Regions from separate parts of the Homo sapiens genome. Here region 1 is linked to region 2. The links are contacts of gene promoters, found by promoter capture Hi-C in blood cells and fetal thymus (Javierre and others, 2016). All regions are on one chromosome and are shown on one strand. The core of a region is centred on a gene start or on the middle of the fragment in contact, and the rest is flanking DNA. Distances in the headings are between cores, read along the strand shown. Region 1 holds the start of NSD2 (nuclear receptor binding SET domain protein 2). Region 2 overlaps SLBP (stem-loop histone mRNA binding protein).

Region 1 (2,747 bases), core at 114-2,613, 170 kb after region 2:
GTACCACAATGTCTCAATTACTGTAGCCTTATAGTAAGTCTTGCAGCAACCCTTGTTTTTTTGGGGGGGCCACAACTCAACCCATACAGGGGCCCAGCACCTGTGAAGGGACAGCAGCGGAGGCGGCGCGGGAGAGGAAGAGGAGGTGAACTGTGGCCACTCCTTGGTGGCTGGAGGTGGGTCCGGGGAGGCAGGACCTGGGCTGAGGTGTCGTTCTATAGCCCGGGTAGCGCACTTTCACAAAGCTCTCCTTGACCAAACTCTCGCCAGGCTCCCCTGGGCCCGCTTCTCAGCGAGGGCTCAAGCTGGGCCTGTAAAGCTCGAGCAGACACTAAGGCTCAAGGCCGAAGGTGTTCCCGGCTCCCTGAACCTGCGTGACAGAAAACCCAAGGCCGCCGGCTCCGGCAGCACCTGGAGGCAGGAGCCGAACTTCCATGGGCGGCGGGCAGCAAATCACACCGGCTTCAACCGCCCGGCCCGCCCACTTTTTGCAGCGTCTGACTTCCCCGCTCGCCCGCGCCGCTTCCTCCTCCTCCCTGTGCCGCACGCAGTCGCCCGCGCCACCCCCTGAAGCCCGGCTCTACCGCAGCGGCGCTGGGGTAGCGCCCCTGGACCAGGCGTCCTCCCCTCGCGAGCGGTCCTCCCGCAGCCGCGCCCAGCTCCGGGTCGGACCCTCGCCCGGGGGACTCGTTCACGCCCTGCGGCCGTTAGGCGGGAAGAGCACGACGCCCTGCCCTGCCCCGTCGTGGCGTCTGACCCTCTCCGCCACGTCTGTTCTGAGGCTCCGGGCCCGCCACGGCGGGGCCTCTGCGGCGGTTTCCCCACCCGTCCCCGCACTGCCGCTCCGCGAGGCGGACGCCGCTAGCAGCCTCCCGCGGGCCCCAGGCCCCGCGCCCCTCTCACGGGACAGGAGCTTGGGGACCCGCGCGGGCGGGCCGCGCGCCCAACGCCAGCCTCCGCGGCCGCGCGCCCACGGCTCGGGGGCGCCGGCTCCGGACGGTGATTGGGCGCGGATCGTGACGTCACTGAGCGCGGCGCCCGCGGGCGCCGGGTCTGGGCCGGGTGCGCGCCGCCGAGTAGCGGGAGCAGGGCGCGCGCCCGGCGCTACTCTGAGGCGGCTCGCGGGGCCCGCGGCCCGGCCCTCCCGGCGCTGCCAGCCCCGCCCGCCCGCGCGGCCCCCACCCGCCGCGTGCCTGCCCGCCCCGCCCGTGCGCGGCCCCGGCGCGGATTTGAAAAGCCCGGTCCGCGGGCCCCGCGAGCGCGGCAGCCAATCAGCGGCGCGCACTTTTCCCGCGGCTTCTGCGAGGCGGCGGCGGCCCCGGCTGCGGCGGCGGCGGCGGGCGGGAGGCGCGGGGGCGGGGTCGGCGCCGCGCGCGAGAGCCTCGGCCTGGCCGCGCTGCGCCCGCCGCCGCCGCCGCCCCCTCCCCGCCTGGGCCCTACCGCCGCACGGCCCCGGCCCCCTCCCAGCCTGCCGCTCCGGAGAGCCGCCCGCCGAGGATGCGACGCACCGCAGGTCACTGGGGCGCCCGCCCAACAGTCGCGGGCCGCCAACCGCCGGGGCTGGGGCCGGGAGGCCGGGCTGTGGGAGGCCTGAGGGGCGGCGGGGAGGACCGCGGAGGCCTGAGGGGGCGGGAGCGCCGGGAGGAGTGGGGGCACTGAGGAGGCCTGAGGGGCCGGCTCAGGGGCTGGGGGACCGGGAGGCCGGGCGGCCTGAGAGGGTCGTGGGGACCGCGAGGACCGCGGAGGCCTGAGGGCCGGCGGGAGGACCGGGCGGACCGCGGAGGCCGGGACGAGTCCGGGCAGGGGAGGGGCGGCGGCCTGCGGGCGGCGGCGGCTAACGGGGCCGGGCGGGCGGGCGCGGCCATGTTGGGCCCGGCCGGGCCCTGCGGCTGCACCTGTGCCCGGCCCGGCCGAGGCGGCCGCCTTTGTTCCCGCGGCGCCGAGCGGGTCGGGCCGGCCTTTGTGCGGCGCCCCCGGTCCGGGGCGGCCGCGGTGGGAGGGGCAGGTTGGGGTCCCGGGGCCGGCGCCGGGGCCAGGGGTCGGGCCGAGGGTCGCTTTTTGTTTGCAGGCGGTGTCTGGCGTTGACACTCGCGGCGCCCGGGCGTTGGTCAGCGCGGACGCTCCCCCGGGAAGCCGGGCCGCGGTCCGGCCCTTGGCAGGTGGAGGCGGGGGTGAGCCGGGTGTGGGTACCCTGCTGGGGGGCTGCGCGCCCTCGGCGTCCGGGCCTCCGCCTGGGATGTTCCCCTCGCCCCAGGATGCAGATTGATAGTCCTTGAAGCCTCAGTGCATGAGATGGGACCTGGCGACTTAATGGCTGGTTTTGCTCCACTCACAGGAACCGTGGTTTAAAATCTCGGCGTTTAAAAAATGCTGGTCTTAAGTTTCGGTAGAAATAAAATGGATGAGGGTATTGTATAGGACCCATTGCAGCACGAATCTTTCTGTGCCCACGATGGGCTTTGACATTCAAGTGGAAACATAGTATCAAAACTGATGTGGTGACGTTAATCGTTTTTAGGTAGATAACGTGTATTTTGTGTGTGTGTGTGTGTGTGTGTGTGTGAGAGAGAGAGAGAGAGAGAGAGAGAGAGAGAGAGAGAGAGAGAGCGCGCAGACCCTGTGAAGACAAGACTAATTGGATAAAGTTCAGGCCTGGCTCAGGAGCAGCTCTTCAGTGCTACCCACCTGCTTCACAGACTTTCAAGCCTTGATTTTTAAATGAGTTAAACGCCAGCATCACGCATGGG
Region 2 (3,069 bases), core at 392-2,891:
TGGCTCACACCTGTAATCCCAGCACTTTGGGAGGCCGAGGCAGGCAGATCACCCAAAGTCAGGAGTTCGAGACCAGCCTGACCAACATGGAGAAACACCATCTGTACTAAAAATACAAAAAAATTAGCCCAGGCATGGTGGCGCATGCCTGTAATTCCAGCTACTTGGGAGGCTGAGGCAGGAGAATCGCTTGAACCTGGGAGGCGGAGGTTGCGGTGAGCCAAGATTGCACCATTGTACTCCAGCCTGGACTAGAGTGAAACTCGGTCTCAAAAAAATCACTATCCGCTGGGCACAGTGGCTCACGCTTGTAATCACAGTACTTTGGGAGGACTACTTGAGGCCAGGAGTTCAAGACCAGCCTGGGCGACATAGGGAGACTCCCATCTCTATAAAAATTTAAAAGTTTAGCCAGGTGTGGCGGCATGCACCGCTGGTCCCAGCTACTCAGGAGGTTGAGGTAGGAGGATTGCTTGAGGCCAGGAGTTAAGACTACAGTGAGCCATGATGGTTGGGCGTGGTGGCTCACCCCTGTAATCCCAGCACTGTGGGAGGCAGAGACAGACGGATCACGAGATCAGCAGTGCGAGACCAGCCTGGCCAATATGGTAAAACCCCATCTCTACTGAAAATACGAAAATTAACCAAGTGTGGTGGCAGGCGCCTGTGGAGGCTGAGGCAGGAGAATCGCTTGAACCCGAGAGGTGGAGTTGAAATTGCGCCACTGCACTCCAGCCTGGGCAACAGAGCAAGATTCCGTCTCAAAAAAATGAATACACAGTGAGACATGATATAACACTGCACTTCAGCCTAGGTAACAGCAAGACTCGGTCAGGAGGGAAAAAAAAAAGCACCATCACATTGAATCTTACTATTCCTTTGCCAGCTATGTTCCAAAAAAGTAAAAAAAAAAAAAAAAAATTGTTTTTTTTGAGATGGAGTCTTGCTCTGTGACCCAGGCTGGAGTGCAGTGGTGCAATCTCGGCTCACTGCAACCTCCTCCTCCCAGGTTCAAGTGATTCTCCTGCCTCAGCCTCCCGAGTAGCTGGGACTACAAATGTGTGCCACCACGCCCAGCAAATTTCTTGTATTTTTAGTAGAGACGGGGTTCCACCGTGTTAGCCAGGGTGGTCTCGATCTCCTGACCTCATGATCCGCACTCCTCGGCCTCCCAAAGTGCTGGGATTACAGGCATGAGCCACTGCACTCAGCCAAAAGTAAAATTTTTTTTTTTAAGAGACAAAGTCTCATACTCTGCAGCCCAGGCTGGAGTGCAGTGGTGTGATTAATGGTTCACTGTAACGTTGAATTCCTGGGCTGAAGCAGTTCTCCCACCTGTCTCCCAAGTAGCTGGGACTACAGGTGCAAACCACCACACCTGGCTAATTTTTAAATTTTTTGTAGAGATGAGGTCTCCTTATATTGCCCAGGCTAGTCTCCTGGCCTCAAGCAGTCCTCTCGGCCTCCCAAAGTGCTGGAATTACAAGCATGAGCCATTGCACCTGGCCCAGAAATGTAAATTTCAACCCCAATCCTGCCAAAAAGTTCAGGAAAACACTAAAGCTTTCTTTATATCCTTCTGTGTCTGTGTGTTTGAGGGACCAGGATAGGCAAGAACATGCTGCTTAAAGACAATAGGGCAATGCCAATTTTTTTTTCTCCAATTAGAATTTTACAATATTTAACTTGAACTTCATTTTTCCCCATCATGTATTTTAATAAGCTTACATCTATGATTGCTGACTCCTAAGAAATAAAATGTTATCTAACATTCAAAATTATATGAAAATGATTTTTAAAATCTTCATGTCTTTAGTTTTCCAGTTGCCAATCCATTCTTTATTTACGTCATAAGCCCCAGTAAGTCCCTATTAAATAGCTCTTAGCAGGTGTGAACTATCCCCAGCATCATTTGTACTACCCAATCTAAGCAACTCTTTAGAAACGCAATGCCACACAGCTTGTTCAAGACATGCCACTGAAACAAGACTACCTTGGGACTTCTTTAATATAACGATCGTAGGCAATTGTGTTCTTCCCATAGTTGATCTGCTTCTGTCTCCTCATTAGGACACTTTCATCTGTCTCAAAGTCAGCCGGCACAGTAGACATAGACTCCTTTGAATCAGAACTGAAAAAACAACAGATTAACAGAATAAGCCCTGCAATTAAGATCACCATGTATGTAAGGTAAGCCAAGAAAATGTCAAAACACAATAATGGAAGATTCACTCCAGATTCCCAACCATATGAATCCTAAATAGTCCGGAGACTGCATGTATGGGAATTTAGTACACAACAGATACAGTATTTCAAATTAGTGAAAAAGGTATTAATAAATGCTACTGCGACAGTCAGCATTTCTGACAGTCACAATTTTTTTTTTTTAACAAATTACAGGTCTATCAAATTAGAAAAGAAACATTTACACAGCCTTTACCTTCCTGATGATGATTTTCTCTCTCTTCCAAAGTCATTGATGAGGAGTTTCCTTTTATATCTGAGGGCAAAATAAATATTGCTGTTTTTAAAAAAGATATAAAAATAAAGCAGCCAGGTCTGAGGAAGCTCCACCCTGATGCCCGCAGGCACACCATCCTATGCAATCCAGAAGCTCCGTGGGCCAAAAGAAATCTTTGTCAGGTTCAGTTTAAGTAGTGAGATCCACACAACAAAAATTTACATTCCCTAAAACTTGGCAGCCTTAAAAAAAGAAAAACAAAACATAAATTGAAATAAATTATTTTAAAAACACCAAACTTACTAATGGGACTCATATGCCTACTGGGCACTGCATACCTTCTCCAATCCTGGAGACCAAACGTGCCCCCTTTTCTCTTGTTCCTCATGAACTTCCTGAGGCATCTGCTTTCTATTGCAGTCATTACCAGAACGCAGTTTTGCAAAAAAAAAAGTATGACATCTCCAAAAGGAGTCTAGCGCAATCTGACGTTGAAACCACGAGCTACCTTGAGCTCCAAGTTCATGTGAGTATCTTTTTTTTTTTGAGATGGGGTCTCACTCTGTCACCCAGGCTAGAGTACAGTAGCACGATCATGGCTTACCACA

What was found. The method cuts DNA at HindIII sites, captures the fragments that hold promoters and counts their contacts. A CHiCAGO score of 5 or more calls a contact.
Region 1: a contact is called between the fragment with the promoter of NSD2 here and a fragment that was not itself captured in region 2, in 1 of 17 cell types (naive B cells). The highest score is 5.0, in naive B cells.

The regions. Positions count from the first base shown.
Region 1 is chr4:1,870,030-1,872,776 of GRCh38, forward strand. It overlaps NSD2 (nuclear receptor binding SET domain protein 2), which reads left to right and starts at 1,364. Exons shown (of 22, transcript NM_001042424.3): 1 at 1,364-1,513. RefSeq lists an enhancer at 293-794 and silencers at 528-787, 818-1,047, 1,098-1,797. The HindIII fragment of the contact is 4,701 bases long and covers 1-2,747 here.
Region 2 is chr4:1,697,571-1,700,639 of GRCh38, forward strand. SLBP (stem-loop histone mRNA binding protein) reads right to left here. Exons shown (of 8, transcript NM_006527.4): 4 at 2,441-2,500; 5 at 1,994-2,131. Among named protein-coding and RNA genes, the nearest start is that of SLBP, 13 kb to the right of the region's middle. The HindIII fragment of the contact is 160 bases long and covers 1,562-1,721 here.